2 separate regions of the Homo sapiens genome follow, and region 1 is linked to region 2. The links are contacts of gene promoters, found by promoter capture Hi-C in human tissues and cell types (Jung and others, 2019). All regions are on one chromosome and are shown on one strand. The core of a region is centred on a gene start or on the middle of the fragment in contact, and the rest is flanking DNA. Distances in the headings are between cores, read along the strand shown.

Region 1 (6,790 bases), core at 968-3,467, 45 kb after region 2:
TGTACATAGATTTAAGATATACTATCATACATAGAAAAAAACAGTGTTTTCACTTTACACTCACACTCATATAGCACAGAATACTTCTGTGACCAGATGTGCAGGGTTTTCCCCATCAACAACCAGTTCTCCAGCAGATACCAATGGGGTGTCCTATAATTCAGTGCCATTCTGACATTATCTACCTGGAGATAGCATCAGATCCCACAGATTAAGGATTCTGCCGCCAAGACTGCCCCCACTTTGGACTCCAGTTGGAAGCCTCAGGTTGTGACCTGTGCTTCTGAAGGACTGGTTAGGATTCCCATGTCCCTTCCCTGGGTTTAAGTTGATCGAGTGGCTTATAGAACTCAGGAAAACACTGACGTGCGTTTACTGGTTTATTATAAAGGATATTACAATGGATAGAGATGAACAGCCAAACGAGATGCATGGGGCTGAGCATGTGGATAGGCGTGCAGAGCTTCCTTGCCGTCTCTGGGTGCATCACCTTCTAGGTAGCCCCACTAGTTAAGAAGCTCTCTGAACTGTCCTTTCAGGTTTTTATGGAGGCTTCATTAAATAGGTTTGATTGATTCCATCATTGGCCATTGGTGATCAACTCCATCTTTAGCCCCCCTGCCCTCTCAAGAGGTCAAGAGGTAGGACAGAAAATTCCTACCCTCTAACTAGAAGGTAGGTCCCCCTGGCAACCATCCCCCATCCTGAGGCTATCCAAGGGTCCCAGCCATCAGTCATCTCATTAACATACAAAAGATACCCTTATCACTTTGGAGATCCCAATGGTTTTAGAAGCTGTGCTCCAAGAACCAGGTTCAGCAACCACATACATATTTCTTATAAATCACAATATCAAATTATATATTTGTATCTATATATGTATATATAACATATATATCTATAGAGATTGTATATATGTATATATGTTACATAATATATAAATATATATAACATATACATATATACATATCTATATGTATCTATACATAGATATATATCTATATATGTATATATGTATCTATGCATATATAGTTACATTTATATCACTATCTCAAGACATGTATCTCTTTGACTATCACTGTGTGGAGATATTTACTCTTAGGAATTGTCTCATGTGCTTCTAGGGGCGGCAAATATGAAATTTGTAGGGCAGATTAGCAGGCTGGAAATTCAGATGAGAGTTGATGTTGTAGTCTTGAGTCTGAAATCTGTAGGCCAGCTGGCTGGAAACTCAGGCAGAATTTCTGTGTTACAGTCTTAAGGCACAATTCCTTCTCCAGAAAACCCATCTTTGCCCTGAAGAACTTCAATGGATTCAGTGAAGCCCACCCATATTTTTCAAGGTAATCTCCCTGACATACAGTCAGCTGTGATGATAGATGTCATTCACATCTGTAAAATACTTTCACAGAAACACGTAGATGAATGTTTGAGCAAACAACGGGACACCACCACCTAGACTAGTTAACACATACGCTGACCATCCCAGCATCCTTTATCATCTTGATGAGCTTGATCACTTTGGAGCAGCAAGAGGGAAAGAAAACTATCAAGGCAGAGGCTGCCATGATCACCACATGATATGCCAACTTGCTAAGACATTGAGTTTCAATTGAGTCTCCCAGGCCAGGCTACCTTCCTCATGATGAGGGGAACAGGGAAATCAATATGGGTTCATTAACACTTAATTTAGGTTTTCCAGTGTGGAGCATATCAGGAAGAGAAATGGCAGACATATTACTTGTCTCAAGCATTATCCATCATTAGCGTCTGTTCTCTTTCTCCGACACACACACACACACACACACACACACACACACACACACACCCCCTTATATTTTTCCCCTAGTACCTTCCTCACTGATCATATTGTTCTGTTAACACCCACCACCAAAACTACATCCTGGGTCCTCTCCACACTGCAGCTCTCAAGACGATCGTTTACTCTATTATCAAGCTTACCATTTATTTTATTTTCAGGCGGTTGTATTCATTATAATGCCATTAGCATGAGAAGTGGGGTCCTGTCACCAGGGCAACCAGGAGCACAGAGTGCACATTCCCTCCTTAGCTGATGTCTTGTTCCCTCTTGGGTGGACTCCAACTGTGTCTTTGATTCATTCCATTAGGTGGTCACTGGGATGTAGATGCTTGACAGCCTCCTTGTCCTTAAGTTGTCTGTCTTTATATCCTTTACTGGCCAAGATTTCTCTCTCCAGAATTCATTAATTTATTACCTTTTATTTCTGTAAGCATAACACATATAATATTTCCAAGCATATTTAACCACATGATTATATCTTTACAATTCCTATAACCTCTAACCCTCTAATGTATTATTTTATATTACATATCTTGGTGCATTTCCCTATATATTGTACATATTGTATGCGAGTATGATACATTCCCCTTTTGGTCAGTACTACCAATTAATAACAAGCTCCTTACTACTGAAGGTATTTCAGCTACATGATCATCTGTCTAGGATATTATAGAGCCTATTCTTGCATTATGAAAGGGGTTGAAAGAGATGACCTATACGTTCTTTAAAAATCTGAAGCCCTAGGTTTATTCCATATCTATAACTGTCCTCCATGAATATAATTTTAGCTACAGTGGATCTCTCTAAATGAAGACATCTGGAGCATTCCAAATGCAAGCATGAGTGCAAAATGTCTGCTTGTAGTTTTCTATAACATCCTTCCTACCTCCACAAAATTACTTAGAATTTGTGAATAATTTCATTAAATTTATCTTTGGGGGGATACTTGATTAAGTAGTACTCCAAGTGGGCAATGTAGTAAGCAAATCCATTCCCACATTTTCTTTTCACATAGGCAGAATACATACAATTTTCTTTTTTTTATTATTATTATTTTTTTAGACGGAGTGTCGCTCTGTCACCAGGCTGGAGTGCAGTGGTGCGATCTCGGCTCACTGCAACCTCCGCCTCCCGGGTTCCAGTGATTCTCCTGCCTCAGCCTCCCAAGTAGCTGAGACTACAGGTGCATGCCACCACACCCAGCTAATTTTTTGTATCTTTAGTAGAGACGGGGTTTCACCATATTAGCCAGGATGTATACACACAATTTTCAGAAGGTCTTTTGTGTGTATGCTTTTGAATAATATGCCCCTGGATCTTGCCCCTCCATCAATGATTTCCAAACCTGACATTGTATTTGAATTGCACACACACACTAACTTGGATGTAGAAACATTTCAGATCTCAAGACATGGAGAATCCGAATCAACAGGTCTTGAGTAAGACCCAGTATCTGTAATTAAAAATTAAAAAAAAAACCTCCCTACGTGACTGTTTTTCTATATATTTCTTTTCTTTCTTTCTTTCTTTTTTTTTCTTTTTCTTGAGACAGGGTCTTGTTCTGTCACCCAGGCTAGAGTATAATGGTGTGATCCTGGCTTACTGCAGCCTTGACCTCCCGGGCTCAAGTGATCCTCCCACCTCATCCCCCAGAGTGGCTGAGACTACAGGTGTGTGCCACCATCACCGGCTAATTTTTTTTTTTTTTTTTTTCTGTAGAGACAGGATCTTGCTGTGTTGCCACGGCTGGTCTCAAACTCCTGGTCTCAAGCAATCCTCCCATCTTGGCCTCCCAAAGTGCTGGGATTACAGGTGTGAACCACCGCACGCGGCCCTATGATTCTTATGGATGCCTAGGAACACTGGGGATGTCTGTTTTCATACAGCTGGTGGTCACAGTTTCAGTGCTATTGTGTGTTCTTAGGTGGTTTGCTTTTCTTGCTGGCTTTCTTCATGGTCATAGATCATTTCAAAGCCTCTGATATATCATTGCGGTTTCCACTCAGTCCTCTGTCTGTTTCATTCCTAATTAATTACTTTGACATGCCCGTAACCTGCTCAGAAATCACTGGGGGTTTCTTAGCAGATACAGAAACAAATCTTCATCCTTCAAACTGGATTTCACGAACCTCCAAAGTTTCATTTCTCCTCGTCTTTGAGATGTGATATAATGTGGTTAGAAGACCTGGCTTTGAATTCTGCCCCTTCCTCTGTAGACCTACTAAGTTCCAGACAGTGTCTCTGTATCATCTCATGTAATGCTTATAACAGCCTCATGGGATGAATATCCCCATTTTATAGATGAGAAAACAGAGGCTCACTTAGCTAAAATCACTTAAAGCCTCAGTAGTCCTTGGGGTCTGGATTTTGCCTCCGAGGACTAGGGTTGTCCTCATATGAAGTGATTGCCTGCCAGTGTCAACAGAAGGATTCCTAGTCTTGATAATTTGGAAAGTGCGCTAAGCATGAGATCTTGAGATATATTTCCGACTTCAACACTTTAATGGTAGTATTAAGAGGTATAATTGCTCATGCCTGTAATCCCAGCACTTTGGGAGGCCGAGGAGGGTGGATCATGAGGTTAGGAGATTGAGACCCTGCTGGCCAACACGGTGAAACCCCCTCTCTACTAAAAACACAAAAATTAGCTGGGTGTGGTGGCATGTGCCTGTAGTCCCAGCTACTTGGGAGGCTGTGGCAGGAGAATTGCTTGAACTGGGGGGGTTGGAGGTTGCAGTGATCCAAGATTGTGCCACTGCACTCCAGCCTGACTACAGAGCAAGACTCTGTCTCAAAAAAAAAAAAAAAAAAAAAAAAAAAGGCATAATTCAGACGTGGCAGTTGAGAGGGTAAATAGAAAGCACTAATTAAAAAAAAATCCAATTTCTAAGACTGCAGAGCATCAGCTATTATTGAAAATGTAGACATCAGAAGGGAAAAACCCTTTGTTCAGATACAGTGCTGCTAAGTTAGATGCAGCTGAGAAATGGGAATACATGCAGTAAGGTGGTTATGCAGTATTTTTCAACAGTAGTCCACGGTTGAGCATGGATGCCATTTAAATACATTATCTGGAAAAATGTACATAGAACTTACGATTTTTGACAGCAGGAACTCATTATGCCAGAATTTGGATTCTCAGGATAGCTGAGCAGAAAGGGCAGGTGGAAGTCTCCCGAAATAGATGAGTGTTTGGACAAAAATGGCAGCAGGTATACTGTGCCAAGCATTGGCCTTTGCCCAGGTGCCGGGTACGATGTCAAGGATGCAAGCTGAAGCTGGCCATATGGTTCTCAGAGTCTCTCTGCTCATTCTGCCCTCCACTCAGAGGTAGAGACATGGGCTTTTCTTTATTTGCAGCAGAAGGTAATTGCTTTAGACTTAACAGGCTGCATTTGACCGTTGACTCACCATTATGGTGTATTATGAAATGAAGCCTCAGCCTTGGTCTCCCAGAGTAGGGGGCGGGGGAGGGCGGCAGGGAGAAAGGGTGGTGCCTGAACTATCAACACGGCACAGTTTAAATGTCAGGCTCTGCAATTTACAAGTGATCTGAGATTCATGGGAAATGCAATGGAAAAGTCACTGCCGAGTCCCTCTCCCTCATGTTATAAGATTGAGTGTGTCATAAATTTTGTGCATTGCTAAGTTCATGGTGCTTCTGTAAGAAGACATTAAAAATAGAACTCCTTACGTCCTCGATTCTTACCTACAGGGCATGCAGGCCAAAAGTCTACACACAGAAGTTAAGCTGGTTTTTAATCCTGTTTTTCGTTCTGGGGCTGTACTCTTAAAAGCCAAACACTTTTTCAGAGACATTCTGTGCCCGATATAGCTTCATTTTGTTAATAGCAGAAGTGAATAGAGGCAAAAACAAACCAACCAAACAAACAAACAAACAAACAAACACCCTGAAAATACAAGCGAATGCCTGGATAGGAATTCAAAGTTTCATTGAAAATAAGATAGAAATAAATCACTAACCGTACTTGTCTTACCTGTGTGATGTGGATATTACATAACTTAATATTAGGTAGAATATCCAAACTATTTTGATGAAATATGTTGGGAGAGAGAGATTTTTTGTTTCATCAGAGAGAAGTTTTGCTTTTCCATGAAGGTACAGCCTCAGCTTCCCTAGAGAAATCTTTCTCCATAGAAGGAATTATCTGCAAAGGGTGGGTTGCTGAGGGCTAAATCCATTAAAACCAATTTGAGGAAGAGCTGTTACTTGCTGAGGATGGGAAAAAAATATATAAAAAGCTCATTACCTAGAGCAAAATGATTGCTTTAGGATTAAGAAATTGACAGTTACTGTTTAATTATACCAGCCCACTGAAAACTCACAGACTAAGCTTTCTAGACACTTAAGCATATGTGCATTTGTTATTGTAGCAATTGGGGTAAATTTATGATCATAAATGCCAATAACTTGAACAGTATCCAACTAGCCTTTGTGTGAATAGGTTTATTGTGTTCATTTTACAGGGAAAACACAGTCTTTCTATCAATATGACCAAGATTTCCTCGATTTTCTTTTATTCTCAGAGTTCTGTTTAATTGCCTGCAATCTTTTTGATATTAGGCTCTTCATTCATTTTTTTGTCCATTAGTAGTTTCACTAAGGAAACATGGTTCTGTAGGGATGCGAGGCTGTGTTTCTTATACGTCTGCTCCCCTTTGGGTCTGAGATCATACATACCTGGCTTGTGGTCCAGTGCAAGCTCCCTGGCAGCTTGGGAAATGCGTCTTCAGCAGACTTCAGCCTTACTTTGTTTTCAGGAATGTGGCAGGCCAGGTCGCACTAACACAGCCTTCTGTAACAACTGTCTCAGTGCTGACTGAGTAGTTAAGGTAAATATTAAAAGCTGAGAGAGCCAGTGCCTTTATACAAAGGCTGGAGTGTATCAAAAGCCTACCTAGAGTTGTGCCTAGGCCTTTCCTGGGCCTTGAAGCATGACAAAATAA
Region 2 (6,780 bases), core at 2,136-4,635:
GCTATGCTGTTTTGCTTCAGGCACTTTCATAAGCTGTATTCTCCTTCGGGAATATCCATCACCCAACTCTCTGTGGAATTCCTATTTATCTTCTCTATTTAGACACGATCTTCTCTAGAATGCTTTGCCTGACCTTCTGCCCTTCTGCCATATCTGGCTATAGGCTCCTGCTCCGTATTGGCCAAATGTTTCAAGACAGTTGCAATCACTCATTTATGTGTCTGCATATGCTATTGGACTGTACGCTTCTCGAGTGCAGAAATTGAGTCTAGTTTATATACTAAATGGTTTACATGGGGGACTAGCCTCAAGAAGGATGCATGTTTGATGACTGAAAGAACAAAGGACTACATAAATGGATGAGCAGGTTGACTTCTCATTTCATTCCAAAGTGGTTAGCCCATTTAGACAGCAATCTACTGCAGGAAAGAAGGAAGGTTCACCTATCATTTATTGAGCTTATTATGTGGCTGGTGCTGTGCATCAGGGAACAAATCTTTGATGTAAAGACCTTTTAGTTTAATAGAAGAGAACAACATTTACAGTAAGCTGAGACAAATGACAGGGTAAAGGTAAATGGAGGTGTTAGAGGAGTTCGCAAGAACACCTTATCTGTGCCTATGGGGGGCTGGGTAGGGAGTTGAGGGATTGGCAGGGAGAAAGTGATATTGAAATGGAGATCTAAAAACTAAACAGAAGCTATCCAGGAAAAGAGAGTATGTAAGGGTATTCCTGGTTGGAGGAACAACATATACAAAAGATTGGATACAACAAGAGAAAAGCCCTCCTGGGTCACAGAGTGAACTTAAAAAGAGCCAGGAGCTGGTAAACCACATGGACAACTTTAGACCTTATCCTGGGGAATAATGAAGAGCTATAGGAAGATCCTAAGTTTTAAAGTAAGATGATGAAATTTACACTTTAGAGAGCTCTCAGCCAAGCACAAGGCTACAAAGTCCTTGTTCTTTTTAAACCAGCTTTATGAAAGGTACCATTTTTGACATTTGCTTAGATCACAAATTGGAAAGTATTTTTCATGTCCAGTAGGAGGAGCCAAAGTCTCCAGGTTCTTTCTAACCATAGCAGGGCGATTCTTGGCCCTAGGTTGTCCTGGGAGCTGTCAACTTCAGCACCTCTCATTTATCTTCCAGTGGCTCAACATGGAGAAATGACAGGAAAAACTCTACTTGGAATGCGAAAGGTCATTGTGAGAAAGAAACTAATACTTTCCAAATGAATAGCATAATGGCATGCCATATTGATCTTTACTCTAATTTTGTTTTAAATTGTAATGGATGCCTCTCACACTCATATTCTTAAGCCATGTAGCAATACAGGTACCAGTGAGTCATGCCTGACACTCATCACTAATCTATCTAAGCCTATTTCTACTCTACAATAAATAAATCAGAGCAGACTCAAGCTGAACTTGATTTTCAGATAGATGAATATGTTTTATTTCCAATGGTAAATATATATATGTATTAAAAATAATCAAAGGGCCCAGCAATTACCCATTTTAATGTAACAACAGCTGATGTTACTGCCTTGAATGATTGCATTCATTTGTTCCTTTCTGGAATAAAAAATGAAGGAGAATAGACAAACAATTCCTGTTGGTGAATTTGCACAAAACAGTATATTCCAACAGAATTTCCCGTTAACTGCCATTTATTTCTTCTATCATTATTGATAATTTGCTTTTAAATTGAGAATACCTCTTTTACAACCCATCTCATCTCCCTGCATGGCTAGACAATTACATTTAAATTCGGCGGTTTTCCCATTGTGAACAGTTTCTGGGGGAAATGATTATGATGTTACCAACCCAGATTTATGGTTTCATTTTGCTATCACTGAAGGATGAGACTAGTATAAAGAAAAAAAAATTGCTTACATACAAATATATTATTATCAAAGAGAATCCTAAGGAAACATATGGTAAAAATCAACCCAAATTGCAAAATCGCTGGGACCAATGATAAAGATATCTTTCTGGATTTTGCAAACTTACTTTTTCAAATGATGATTAAATATTGCGTGCTTTAAAAAGTAATATAGTTATAGGCAGAAGTTCCCTTTCTTTTATTCTGAGGTTGAAAGAAACCGCAGCCCGATAGGATTGCAAGAGGAACCCTTAAGGAATCTGCTCCTTGATGGGCGCTAGGAAATACACGTACATCTAGTACAAAGGAATGCACATCACATGGCCCCCTGTTTTGGAAAGCTTACAGCATTTCTTATAAGAGGATCCATGGTATAAGTGCAAACACAGTCACATCACAGGATGGGAAAATGAACAGGCGCCTCAGATCAAGTGCTCAAGGCTGGAATCTGGCCTTGTCCAATGCCACCTGCCCTTCAGAAGGCAGGGTGGTGCCACATAAAATGAGGTAGACTGCCTGGGGAGTCCTGGTTCCTTGCCAGCTATGTGACCTTGAACAAATTACAACTCACTGAACCTCAGACTGACTTTATTGTACAACAAAACCCCCTGGAATATTTGTGGAAAAAAGAGGAAGGGAGAAAGGAAGGAAGGGAGGAAAGGAGGAAGGAAGAAAGGGAGGGAGGAAGGAAGGGAGGGAGGGAAAGGAAAAGGTAGGGGAAGAGCAGAGTTTCTCACTCCAGTCCAGAGTGGGACCCAGGAAGGGAGAAATATTGCTTTAATCTCTCTAAGCATCTGTGAAATGGATAAACCTCCAGTATCTACTTCCAGTTGTTGAAAAGACTCCATGTAAAGTGCTTAAAACAGCATCTGGTGGAAAGTAAATGCTTATTAAGTGCTAGTGTGTATTAAGGCGTCATGGGGCTTCTGGCTGTAAGACATCTGCTAGGAGGACAATCCCTAGACCCCTTCAGCGTCCATTGCGGGAGTAGGTGGCCAGGAAGGGGGCAGGACAGGAGAGGCCCAGCTGTGCGGGGTGGGGGCGTCCCAGGCCAGCCGCACCCACCCCAGCCCTGCATCCCATCCAGCCTGGAGAACTTTTTGAATCTTGGATAGGGCTCGATCTCTGCCTGGCCGGAAGATTTGAAGACTTGCCAGAAAACTTCCTCAGAGAAGAAATGGACTGGGGCAAGAAGCTGCCTCCACTTGGCGTCTCTAGTGGGGGATTTGTCTACTTTGATTGGGGTTGGGAGGAGGGCGCTGGTGCTCAATGAGTGAGCCCACCTGGGGACTACCAGGACGAGGACGGGCGCAGGTGAAAGTCCTGGGCTCATTGCCCCAGCATCCAACTTTCACCCTCTGTCCCCTTTAGGCCAGGAGACCAGGGTACCGGGTCGCGTGTCCGCCGCCGCCGCCCGCTGGAATCCAGGGCTGCACGCGTGACCGCGGCGGCGGCGGCGCTGGCGAGGGGAAGGGGGAGGGGGCGCTCCCTCGCGCACCAGATTATTTTTGGCTCCGCAGCCGGGGCTGCTCGCTGCTTGTCGCGCGCTCACACACACACAGACACACACGCACACACACACATGCACACATTTTCTCGCGCTCTCTCCGGCTCTCCTTTGTTTATTTTCTAATCTATATTTTTACTGGAAGATTTCCTCTTTATTCTCTCCCGCCCTCCTACAAGCGCTCTTGCTGGCCGTCTGGGTGCACACACCGCTCCCTCGATCACCCCAGCCCCCTTCCTGGTCTCCCGAGCGCGGGGTTTGAAGGTCACCTCCTTTCCAGTCCCCGTGCGAGCCGCGCTGCCGCCGCCTCCTCCAGCCAGAGTCGGTGGGACTGGCTGCGCTGCCCTGAAGTGGTTCTCCAAGCAGCGCGGAGGGTGGCGGACGGCGGACGGAGCCCAGGGGCCGCGTCGGGTGGGGAAACCCGAACTCGCGGAGGGGAATCCCTCCCCCTCCGCCCCAGCCCCCCAGCAGCACCCGCGGTGGGGCGGGGGCGCTCTGCCAGCCCCGGGAACAGCAGAGGCGGCGGCACTGGCTGGACCCACGCGCGCGCCTCCGGGGCTGAAGAAGGAAGGAGTGAGCCGAGCCGAGCACCCCACATCTGGAGGGGACAGCCAGCCGTGGGCCCCGCCCCGGCGTCCGGAGCAGGAGAACTCCGAGCTTCTTGCCCAGGCAGAGAGAGCAGGAGCGGACCGCGCGCCCGGGATTGAGAGTCCTTGCGCTCCAGACCCCCACCCAGTGGCCGCCAGGGTCCCCGCCTGTCCGGACCCTCGCCGCGCCCAGGCAGGCGCGCCAGGGCGGGGCTGACCTGCCCGCGAAGTTGCGGACAGTGCGTGAGAAACCAGCACCCCCTTCCGCCGCCTCCAGCTTATGGTGAGTGTGGCTGGGGGTGCAGAGAGCGCACGGGAATTCGGGGGTCTGGGGCCGAGAACGTGACCGCAGCCGGGCTCGCCGGGAGTTCTAGGTAAGTCCAGGCGGAGTCATTGCCTCTGCACCCACCCTGACCTGGTGGGTCAGGTCCAGAAGGTCTCATGGAGGGAAGCGCTAGGTCCCCGAGAACTGGCCTCCTCCTAGCGCCAGTCTGGGCGCTCTGGACGGGAACTTTTTCAGGGTGTGTGGAAAGATCTCGAGGCGTGTCCCCCCCTACCCCCAGGAGGCCGAGACCCTGAGCCCCCTTGTGCGTCGCTTCCAGAAGCACGTCCTTCCTTGCCCCAGAGCGCCCCTCCGAAGCATCCAGGCTACCTCGTCCGTCCTCCTGGGAGCGAGTCCTAGGTGCCAGGAGCAGCGGGAGCCTGCCTGCGCACTTTGATTAGTCTCCCTGGCCGGCTGCAAGCGTGCACTCAGCGCGCCCCCGGACCGCTGCCTCCGCCCGCAGGGTGTGCAGGAGGAGGCATCTTAGTGACCCGGGAGGGTGTTTAGGTGCCCCGAACCCCTTGTGGGAGGAGGGGAAGAGAAGGCTCACTTATGTGGAGAAAGCGCCGCTGTGTTTACTGGCACTGGAATCGATGCCCCGCGGTGCCACCTCGACCCCAGGGGAGGGGGCCAGCCGGGAAACCTGCGAATGGGAAACTCCTACTGTGCCCCTGGTTCCTGGGAGCCTTAGAGAACCTTCACCCCAGAGAAGGAAACACAGGGGTAGCAGATCTTAGCCCTGTGTTGTTGTGCAGGCCAGGGGGGGGCTTGTCAGCTCCAATCAACCAATTGTCCAGCTATGGAAGCGAGGGCGGGGCTAGTGGGGCGCCGCTCCCATCTCCCCACCGCCCAGGAGGCCACTTGGCTGTGAGCTCCTGGAGCCTCCCTGGCGCCAGCTGCGGGGACCAGGTGTCACGCGGAGCCCGGAAGCTGTCCACTCAGCAAGGGAGGGGAAGACCCCGATCTAACCTTGTCCTGGAGCCCCCAGCTCCATTCCTTGCTGCCAGGGAATGGTCAGGGGGCTGGGAGAGCTCATCGCTCCTGTGTGGGCCAGAGCTGGGGTGCACCTGCTGGCACTGGAACATCTGGGGTGCGGCTACTGAAGAGCTTGGAAATCCTGGTCAGGCAGTCCGGGCAATTGGCACCCCAAAGGCGGATCTTTTCAGTTGAACTTGAAAAGAAGTGGGGGAGTGTGGTGAAATAGCTTTGTTGAGTTGAAACATCATGTCTCCTAACTTGGGTTTTCCTTTATTAGAATAATGATTGTTTATTTTTATTTTTAAACTCCGTTGTGCAGAGAGGCCTGGCCTTGACAGCCCAAGTTTAGGACATGCCCCAGCCTGCCATCCCTTCCCTGCCCCCTGTCCTAGTTCATCTCCCCTCCATTTATCATTTTATCTTTGTTACAAAAGAGAGAAAAAAAAGATGAGAGGGCCTGGATTCTTTCAATTTTTAAGTGACCACAGAGGCCCCGGCTGGAGCTACTGGCAGATTTATTTTTAGCTAAGATCTTTTATGTTCAGAAGCAAAGGACCTGGGGCCTGTGAAGGGTAAAGGTGGTGCTGGCAGTGGCTGTGCTGGTAAAAAGTGGGGCTGACTCAAAACCTGTGTCCTCTTTGAGCTCGTCAGGGAGGCCCTCCGTTTGGAAGAATCCCCTGGGCTTTCCTTAAGTTAGCTTATGGTTGCCTCGGGTTAGGAAGAAAAGTCATCATTCCTCGCGGTAGTGGAAGTGACACCTTAGGGGTCCAGAGAGTGGAGCTTTATGGCTCAGAAGAGCACAGGGCTTCTGGATCCGTTATCTGCCAGCTGTGTGACCTTGGGCAAGTTGCTTTACCTCTCTGAGCTTCGGGTTGTCACCTGTAAAATCAGAGTTTCAGTCGTAGTTCTGTCCTCAGAGGGTTTGGGGGTAAATTACTTAAAGCACTAAACATTTAGAACAGTTTGGCACATGGTAAGTGCCTGAATTCTATGAGTTTTGTTTCTTTATTCTTTCAAGTAGATTCCTCTAATTTTTGAGCCTTGTAGCACCGAGTGGTACAGGAAAGGCAGGTGGCTTGCCTTATACACACACGTTTTCTTTTAAGTAAGGAACAGAAGCCTCAAGCTCTCCCATTCTGCTCTCTGCATGTTCCAAGGAGGATCACGGACAAGCTGCCCACCCACTGGCCAAGATATAGGTTGGTGGCATTTGACTTGCTGTCTTGACAAGCACCTGAAATTAAGTTTTTGCAGCAGTTGTACATTTCTTCTGACCCACTGAAAGGACTTGATCTCCTTGGCCCCCTGGGATGAAAGTATTACCTTAGCAAATCTGTTTTTTTTTTTTTAATTAGAACATCATTTATTTAATACATAGAATATTTTGAAAACACAAGAATCGAAGAATATTAGAAGTGGCTTTATCATTCCTCCTGGGATTCACACATTGCAATTAGTATGTTTAGATATAAAATTTTGTGGCCAGGTGCAGTGGCTCAT

Evidence for each region. Contacts are between HindIII fragments. The study calls those that stand out against the background at their distance.
Region 1: a fragment that was not itself captured here is called in contact with the fragment with the promoter of RBFOX1 in region 2 in 4 of the 25 tissues and cell types used here (H1 embryonic stem cells, mesendoderm cells, neural progenitor cells and 1 more).

Annotation. Positions count from the first base shown.
Region 1 is chr16:6,061,679-6,068,468 of GRCh38, forward strand. All of the region lies in intron 1 of RBFOX1 (RNA binding fox-1 homolog 1), which reads left to right. Among named protein-coding and RNA genes, the nearest start is that of RBFOX1, 46 kb to the left of the region's middle. The HindIII fragment of the contact is 3,700 bases long and covers 368-4,067 here.
Region 2 is chr16:6,015,639-6,022,418 of GRCh38, forward strand. RBFOX1 (RNA binding fox-1 homolog 1) reads left to right here and starts at 3,386. Exons shown (of 16, transcript NM_018723.4): 1 at 3,386-4,354. The HindIII fragment of the contact is 10,336 bases long and covers 128-6,780 here.